Linked DNA regions of Homo sapiens: regions 1 and 2 are each linked to region 3. The links are contacts of gene promoters, found by promoter capture Hi-C in human tissues and cell types (Jung and others, 2019). All regions are on one chromosome and are shown on one strand. The core of a region is centred on a gene start or on the middle of the fragment in contact, and the rest is flanking DNA. Distances in the headings are between cores, read along the strand shown. Region 1 overlaps DIP2B (disco interacting protein 2 homolog B). Region 2 overlaps DIP2B (disco interacting protein 2 homolog B). Region 3 holds the start of SLC11A2 (solute carrier family 11 member 2).

Region 1 (2,700 bases), core at 10-2,509, 480 kb before region 3:
CCCAGCTGTTGGGGAGGCTGAGGCACGAGAATTGCTTGAACCCGGGAGGTGGAGGTTGCAGTGAGCCGAAATTGCGCCACTGCACTCCAGCCTAGGTGACAGAGACTCTGTCTCAAAAAAAAAAAGAGACCGGGCGCGGTGGCTCACGCCTGTAATCCCAGCACTTTGGGAGGCTGAGGTGGGCGGATCACGAGGTCAGGGATGGAGACCATCCTGGCTAACACAGTGAAACCCCATCTCTACTAAAAATACTACTTGGGAGGCTGAGGCAGGAGAATGGCGTGAACCCGGGAGGCAGAGCTTGCAGTGAGTCGAGATTTGGGCCACTGCACTCCAGCCTGGGTGACAGAGTGAGACTCCGTCTCAAAAAAAAAAAAAAAAAGAAAAAAAAGAAAAAAGAAAATCTCAAAATCTCATAAAGAGAATGGGAAAAGGCTGCATTTGTCTTGGAATTTATAAATGTATTCAAAAATTTTTTTCATCTTTGTTGATGCATATTTCTGTAATAGTTTTTTCCTGTCTTAATTTTCTCTCATAAAAGGAAAAGATTTGATATTCCTGAGTCATCACTCTCCTGAAATCTCAGTTTTACTCAGACCTGTGCTATATAGAGTATTATGTTCATGCCCATGTCTGATGTGGAGGGAGAGACACAGACAGGAGAGTGGGTGACTGACTCAGATGTAAATGATCTTATTATACTTGAGCTGCAACCACACCTAGAAACCTTGACAACAACAGGGCCTGTGTTTGATATATCTCACTTGTTAAATCCTGTCTGGATTTTAGTATGTCATATGTGTGTTCATCAGCAAAATTGAACAGGTGCTGGAACAATTGCAAAGCTTTAATCAGACTTATGATTACACTGTTTCTCGTTATGATTAAACTGTTTCTCATTTTGGCCAAAGAATATGACACAATAACTAAAACAAATTTCTAGTTGTTTCTTGTGTTGTTTATTCTGTTCAGAGGTTTCTTTTCTTTTTCTTTTTTATTTCTTAGACAAGGTCTCATTGTGTTGCCCAGGCTGGAGTGCAGTGGCACAGTCTTGGCTCATTGCACCCTCTGCTTCCCAACCTCAAGCTATCCTCCCACCTCAGCCTCCTAAGTAGCTGGGACTACAGATGTGTGCCACCATGCCTGGCTAATTTTTTTTTGGTCTTTTTTTGTAGAGATGGGGCTTCACCAAGTTGCCCAGGCTGGTCTCAAACTCCTGGGCTCAAGCGATTCACTCACCTCAGCTTCCCAAAGTGATGGGATTATAGGCGTGAGCCACCGTGCCTGTCCCAGAGGTGTCAATGCTACATATACATCCTCCACCAAGATAGAGTCATGGGTAAATTAATTAAGGTTAAGAGACAATTTCAATGTCTTATGCCAAGCTGTTAAAGTTTTTTTTTTTCCCCCTTTTTTATTTATTTTTGAGACAGAGTCTCGCTGTCACCTAGGCTGGAGTGCAGTGGCGCAATCTTGGCTCACCGCAACTTCCGCTCCCCAGGTTCAAGCAATTCTCCTGCCTCAGCCTCTCAAGTAGCTGGGGTTACAGCCACCCGCCATCACGCCAGCTAATTTTTGTATTTTTGGTAGAGAAGGGGTTTCGTCATGTTGGCCAGGCTGTTCTCGAACTCCTGACCTCAGGTGATCCGCCAGCCTCGGCCTCCCAAAGTGCTGGGATTACAAGCATGAGCCACCGCTCTCAGCCTATTAATGTTTCAAAAATAGCTTTTCCCTCATTATAAAAATAGCACATGTTGGGCCGGTCATGGTGTCTCACACTTGTAATCCCAGCACTTTGGGAGGCTGAGGTGGGAGGATCACTTGAGTCCAGGAGTTCGAGACCAGCCTGGCCAATGTGGATGAAACCCTGTCTCTACTAATAATACAAACATTAGCTGGGCATAGTGGCACACGCCTGTAGTCCCAGCTACTCAGGAGGCTGAGGCAGGAGAATCACTTGAGCCTGGGAGGCAGAGGTTGCAGTGAGCTGAGGTAGTGCCAATGAACTCCAGTCTGGGCGACAGAGTGAGACTCAGCCTTTAAAAAAAAAAAAAAAAAAAAGGAGGCTGGGCATGGTGGCTCACGCTTGTAATTCCAGCGCTTTGGGAGGAGGAGGCTGGCAGACCACGAGGTCAGGACATCGAGACCATCCTGGCCAACATGGTGAAACCTCGTCTCTACTAAAATACAAAAAATTAGCCAGGCGTGGTGGTTCGCGCCTGTAGTCCCAGTTGCTCAGGAGGCTGAGGCAGGGGAATCGCTTGAACCTGGGAGGCAGAGATTGCAGTGAGATCATGCCACTGCCACTCCAGCCTGGTGACAGAGTGAGACTCCATCTCAAAAAAAAAAAAGGAAATTAAAGAAGAAAATGAATATTTCCTTAATCCTAACACCCAAGTGTAAACACTAATGGTATTTAAGTAAATTCCCTTCCAGTCACTTTTCTATTCAGATATTCCGTCACTAGGGCTGGAGTGCAGTAGCACGGTCTCAGCTCACTGCAACCTCCGCCACCTGGGTTCAAGCGATTCTCCCGCGTCAGCCACCCAAATAGCTGGGATTGCAGGTGCCTGCCACTACGCCCAGCTAATTTTTTGTATTTTTAGTACAGACGGGGTTTCACCATGTTGGCCAGGCTGGTCTCAAACTCCTGACCTTGTGATTCACCTGTCTTGGTCTCCCAAAGTGCTGGGATTACAG
Region 2 (2,720 bases), core at 205-2,704, 310 kb before region 3:
ATAGCTAAAAGATTAAAAGAACCAAAACAAATTTCTAGGTTTTTGACATTATCACTTAAGAGAGAACATATTGGCTGGGCATGGTATGACAGTAATCTCAGCACTTTGGGAGGCCAAGGTGGGAGCATCACTTGAGGCCATGAGTTCAAGACCAGCCTAGGCAGCACAGTGAGACCCCATCTCTCCAAAAACCTTAAAATTAAAAAAAAGAAAAGAAAAAAAATTATTTTAAATTAGCCAGACGCAGTGGTGCATCCCTGTAGTCCCAGCTTCTTGGGAGGTTGAGGCAGGAGGATCACTTGAGCTTAGGAATTTGGGGCTGTCATGGCTTGTGCCATTGCATTCCACCCCAGCTGACAGAATGAGACCCTGTCTCTAAAAAGAATAAAAACTTAAAAAGAGAACATACTGAGTTGCAAGTCAATATCCACCTTTGTCCATTTAGATTGTATCTTACCTCTCTTCTTTTAATCTCTGCCACAGCTGAAAGATGTGTATTATCTTAATGATTATCTTTAAATCTCTAGATATATGGAATCTTAGTGATCTGCCAGATTCTAGATCTAGAATGGGTAGAGTAAGAAAAATTGTAGCGTAAAATAATGGATTATACCAGGAATATGTCAAATGTAATAGAAGTGATCTCACTGAGTATTTTTGTTTGTATTTTTCTAGGCGATCGATAGCATTCATCAAGTGGGGGTTTATTGTCTTGCTCTGGTGCCAGCCAATACATTGCCAAAAACTCCACTAGGAGGAATCCATATATCTCAGACGAAACAACTCTTTCTGGAGGGATCACTGCATCCTTGCAACATCCTCATGTGCCCCCATACATGTGTGACAAACTTGCCAAAGCCCCGGCAAAAACAACCAGGTAATATGCTGGCTTCCAAGACCTGGCACTAAAATTCCAACTTCAAGAAGCTGGGTTCTCTCAGTGTGATTCTTTCTCTACAATTAGTTTACAAAGACTTTGGGAGGCCAAGGTGGGAGGGTCGTGTGAGCCCAGGAGCTCGAAAACAGCCTGGGCGACATGGTAAAATCCTGTCTCTACAAAAAAAAATGGAAAAAATTAGCCAGGCCCGGTGGTGCACACCTGTAGTCTCAGCTACTTCAGAGGCTGACAGAGGATGGCTTGAGCCTGGGAGGTTGCAGTAAACCGAGATTGCGCCATTGCACTCTAATCTGGGCGACAGAACCAGACCCTGTCTCAACAAAAAAGAAAGGGAAGATGGAAAAGGTGTGTTAAGGCAGCCCGGAGGCAAACATATCCTTGAGATGCTTTTGGAGCTATTGTAGAAAGAAAGAATGTGTTTGTTAGGACTAGTCTTGGCTGCAGGTTGCAGAAAAACATAAATTGCAGCTCAGGCAAGAAACAAGCATATTTTTGTCAGGTAAAAAAAGTTCAGAGCTAGGTAGTCCAAAGGCTAGGATAGTCACTCCTCAATCATGTTCTTCTAGCTTCCCATCTTTTTGCTCTGGTGTTTTGTCTGTCACCTCTTGTCATAGATACGCTACAGAACAAATAACCCTAAAACTCAGTGCCTTGAAGTAGCAAGCATTTACTTTTTACTCATGGAATGTGGATCTGCTTGGCTTGGCTGGGATCCACTGGACTTGACTTGGCTCCAGGCTTAGGTTGGGTTCAGAGCTGTTCCATGTGTCTCCTCATCATGGGACCAGCAGCTACCTGGGCCGTATTTTTTTCAAGGCAGATGGCAGAAGCAACAAAGCAAGCCAAGCCACATGAGCATATTTAAAGCTTCTGTTTGTGTCACATGTCCTAACATTTCATTGTCCTAAACAAGTGAGACCATGAAGTATACTTATCCCATCCAGCCATAACTAAGACAAGAAAGAAAGGAAGGATTGTGGGAAAATAAAATAATCGGCCACAGCCATCATTAGCAACTGCCCCAGGGCTCATTAGGCTCCCCAACCTCTACATCCCAGCCAGCAGGTAGGAGGAAAAGGTAAAGAAAGGATACTCTTCCCTTTAACATATTTTCTAGAAATTGCACATATTACTTCCTCTTACTTATTATCCTCCCACACTAAAGAATATAGTCTTTATTCCAGGCATGTGTCCAGCTAAAAACTGGGGGTTCTGTTATTAAGGAAGAAGAATAGGATACTGGAATTGATAACTAGCAGTTTTTGCCATAAGACGTTTACAGAATTTTATTGGAAAATCAGAAGGCATATTTACAGGTACAGCAGTGTCTGCAATTAGCTTCCTGGAGTTACTGCTTTCAGTATCTTTCATTCTCTGTGACCCACAGACCCATAGACTCACGAAATGCACACAGAAGAACATCCAGGAACTGCTGCTGAATTAGTTTTATTGTTTTAAACTACTGCAAAATTCACTTTTTAAAATATGCCTTTATTAATTTTATAATGTAAATCCCAGAATGCACAGTTTACATAAATACACTCTGAGTCCCTGCCTGTATTAAAAGGCTGTCTCCAACATGATATATCTATAATTTGTCATGAAGTTTCTTAGGGAGGAATATTGCATATTTACTTAAAATTGTAGTAGACACTTTGTAGACTAAAACTGTTCACCAATTGGAATACTTTATCTTTTTTGAGTTTTCTGTTTTATTTTTAAATTTTTTAAACTTTACATTTTGAAATAATTTCACACAAAAAAGTTGCCACATGTCGGGAGGCTGAGGCAGGAGAATGGCGTGAACCCGGGAGGCAGGAGA
Region 3 (2,920 bases), core at 403-2,902:
AGCTGCCTACTAGCTTTGTAGAGTAATCCAAGGGACCACTGCTGATTTCCTAACATTAGAGTAAGATTAGATTCATAAGAAGCTTCCCCATTCCTTAACAAGAAGTGCTGCCAGGCTACCCAGAAATTCCCCTCCCGAGTCCCACTGCCATTCCGGAAACATGAGAAACCAAGTATGCTGCAATCATGGCCTTTTTAGTACTGGCTCCAAAATAAACTGAGTAGGCCAAGCAAGACTGTCAATGAAATACTGTCCAATGAAAAAATAAACAGCCGAAGGTTTCAGGTTTCATTTACCCAACACAGGTATCACAATAAATGACCTAGTATAATGATAGTTTCCAACCGTATTTAATAAAACAAACACGCAGCAGAAATCCTCTAGTCACATATAACTACACTATACCCTCAGATCAAAGTTAATGATGTCAATGGAAAGTATAGGCCGGCGGGTTCACTGGTGATAAGTCATGAGACTCTGAGCAAAGAATAAGTAATAAGGTTAGAATTCTTTAGAAGTGTTAAGGGGAAAGAAGGTAACAACAACAAAAACTCCTCCACATCAAGAGTTCTAAGTACTTTGTTGTTTATTAACTAATTTCATACCAACAACCCTGTAAGACTGATATTATCAATCCCCATTTTAAGTACGTGGAACAAAAGAAGAAAGAGGCAAACAACATGCTCAAAGATTTACAAAGCCAAGAAATCATGCGAACTGGTGGGGCTTCGGGTTCCAGAAGTCAGTGTAAACATAGCTTCTCCATTTTTCACCAACAGTCACTAAAATTGAGGCCAGCAAGTTTTTAGAAGCCTATCTCCCCTTGCAAACTCTCCTTCCATATAATTTTTGCTTTTGCAAGAGATGTCACATTTAAGCGGTAGCTTTAAAAGTGGGGACACATGAAACGCACAGCTGGGAGAGCCATCCAGCCCACTTACATATGTGCAATATCCCCCTGTAGAAAAACCCTGCTCATTGGAGCCTGGAATCCAGAGGGTCCCTGAGAGCTACACAAACAGCCTTAAAACCAATCTACCCACAATTACTGAGCCGCGTATGCAGGCTATTCACACAGAAGGCGCTCCCTGAAGTCGGTTAGGTTATAATGAGTCTTTTGTTGAAGCGGGGCGGCGGGAGGCCCCGGAGAGCAGCCCGGCCCCCTGCGGCGCCGACGAAGAGGCCACGAAAGACCTTGCCCTGTGCCCGTCGGCCTCTTTCGAGGCGTCGAAGCAGGTCAGCGCACCCCGACACAGGCCGGGCGCGCCATCCGGTGCAGCTGGGAGCTGGGCCATGTGTCCTAGGCCGCGGCGGGGAAGGGGCGAGACCCCCGCGACCTCCGGCGTTCCCTCCCTGCCCCCATCTTTGGGTCTTTCTCTGAATGGCGCGACTCCATCAGTCCTGGACTCTGGGCCTGAGGCCCTCCCTGGCCACACCTCCCCTCACAGCCCCGCACGGCGAGCCGGTGTCGCATCCTAGCCCCGGAGCCTGACCCCCGACACAGGCCCTCGAGCCGCCCCGCGCCCCTCCCTGCCAGCGAGCGGAATGCCGTGACCCCTGACCTTGCCTTCCCCTCACCTTACCAGCTCCGCAACCACCTGACACGCCGCCCCCGCGCCCAGGGCTCCATATTCCGGGAGCCAGCGCCACGCTGGCTAACGCCCTCCCCTCCCCGCGATTGGTCGACAGGACGGCAGCCGCACATCCCTATTGGCTGGAGTCCCTGCAGCGGCCGGGATGCGTGGCCCGCAGACCAGGGACCTAGGCTCCGCCCACGCGGAGTCTGGATGCGGCGGCCCCTGGGGCACGCGGCGGCCCCTGGGGCACCCGGCGGGAGCTGCATGCTGCCTAGTTGCTGCTTGCGTTGGCCAGACCCACACAGCCCCTGGACTGGGGAGCTCCAGTCCGCTAGCAGTCTGGGGACAGATAAGATTCCTGCCCTAGTTCGCCGTGGCGCCACGTTAGGTACTGACAATCAAGCTACGAGGTATAGCTCTATCCTGTAAAGGGTAGCCAGGCCAGGCGCGGAGGCTCACACTTGTAATGCCCAGCACTTTGGGAGACCGAGGCGGGAGGATCACTTGAGTCCAGGAGTTCGATACCAGCCTGGGCAACATAGTGAGACCCGGTCTCTACAAAAAATTTTAAAATTAGCCAAGCAAAGGCCGGGCGCGGTGGCTCACGCCTGTACTCCCAGCACTTTGGAGGGCCCAGGCGGGCGAATCACCTGAGATCGGGAGTTTGAGACCAGCCTGACCAACATGGAGAAACCCCGTCTTTACTAAAAATACAAAATTAGCCGGGCGTGGTGGCGCATGCCTGTAATCCCAGCTACTCGGGAGGCTGAGGCAAGAGAATCGCTTGAACCCGGGAGGCGGAGGTGCAGTGAGCCGAGATCGCGCCATTGCACTCCAGCCTTGGAAACAAGAGCGAAAACTCCGTCTAAAAAAAAAAAAAAATTAGCCAGGCATCACGGCGCCCGCCTGTGGTCCCAGCTACTCGGGGGCTGAGGTGGGAGAATCACTTGGGCCTGGGAGGTGGAGGCTGCGGTGAGACAAGATCGTGCCACTGCACTCCAGCCTGGGTGGCAGAGCAAAACCCTGTCTCAAAAAAAAAGGATAGCCACCTGGAAGGAACATTTCCTCGCGCCCCCAGAGCCACATCATAGTATCTGCTGCCCCACCAAGAGCACCCCACACCTGGGAGGAACCGAGAAACATCAGCTAGTGCAGCCAGTTTGACCGCCTTAGGTGTCCTCCCAAGCCTCCGTAGTGAATTGTTTTCCTCCTCGCCCAGCTGACTCGATTCTCCCCAGACTTCATCCTACCTACCCAAAAGCAATCCCACTCTATCGCCAGTTTCAGCCTCACACCGTATCTTTTGCTCTGAAGATGAGACTGCCAAACTGGTGAAGAGGGAA

What was found. The method cuts DNA at HindIII sites, captures the fragments that hold promoters and counts their contacts. A contact is called where the count stands out against the background at its distance.
Region 1: a fragment that was not itself captured here is called in contact with the fragment with the promoter of SLC11A2 in region 3 in 1 of the 25 tissues and cell types used here (IMR-90 fibroblasts).
Region 2: a fragment that was not itself captured here is called in contact with the fragment with the promoter of SLC11A2 in region 3 in 1 of the 25 tissues and cell types used here (hippocampus).

What each region holds. Positions count from the first base shown.
Region 1 is chr12:50,541,884-50,544,583 of GRCh38, forward strand. All of the region lies in intron 1 of DIP2B (disco interacting protein 2 homolog B), which reads left to right. Among named protein-coding and RNA genes, the nearest start is that of DIP2B, 38 kb to the left of the region's middle. The HindIII fragment of the contact is 6,729 bases long and covers 1-2,700 here.
Region 2 is chr12:50,713,720-50,716,439 of GRCh38, forward strand. It overlaps DIP2B (disco interacting protein 2 homolog B), which reads left to right. Exons shown (of 38, transcript NM_173602.3): 23 at 676-877. Among named protein-coding and RNA genes, the nearest start is that of ATF1, 49 kb to the right of the region's middle. The HindIII fragment of the contact is 3,863 bases long and covers 1-2,720 here.
Region 3 is chr12:51,024,732-51,027,651 of GRCh38, forward strand. SLC11A2 (solute carrier family 11 member 2) reads right to left here and starts at 1,653. Exons shown (of 16, transcript NM_000617.3): 1 at 1,579-1,653. RefSeq lists enhancers at 613-1,226, 1,227-1,838 and silencers at 1,244-1,303, 1,314-2,033. The HindIII fragment of the contact is 17,071 bases long and covers 1-2,920 here.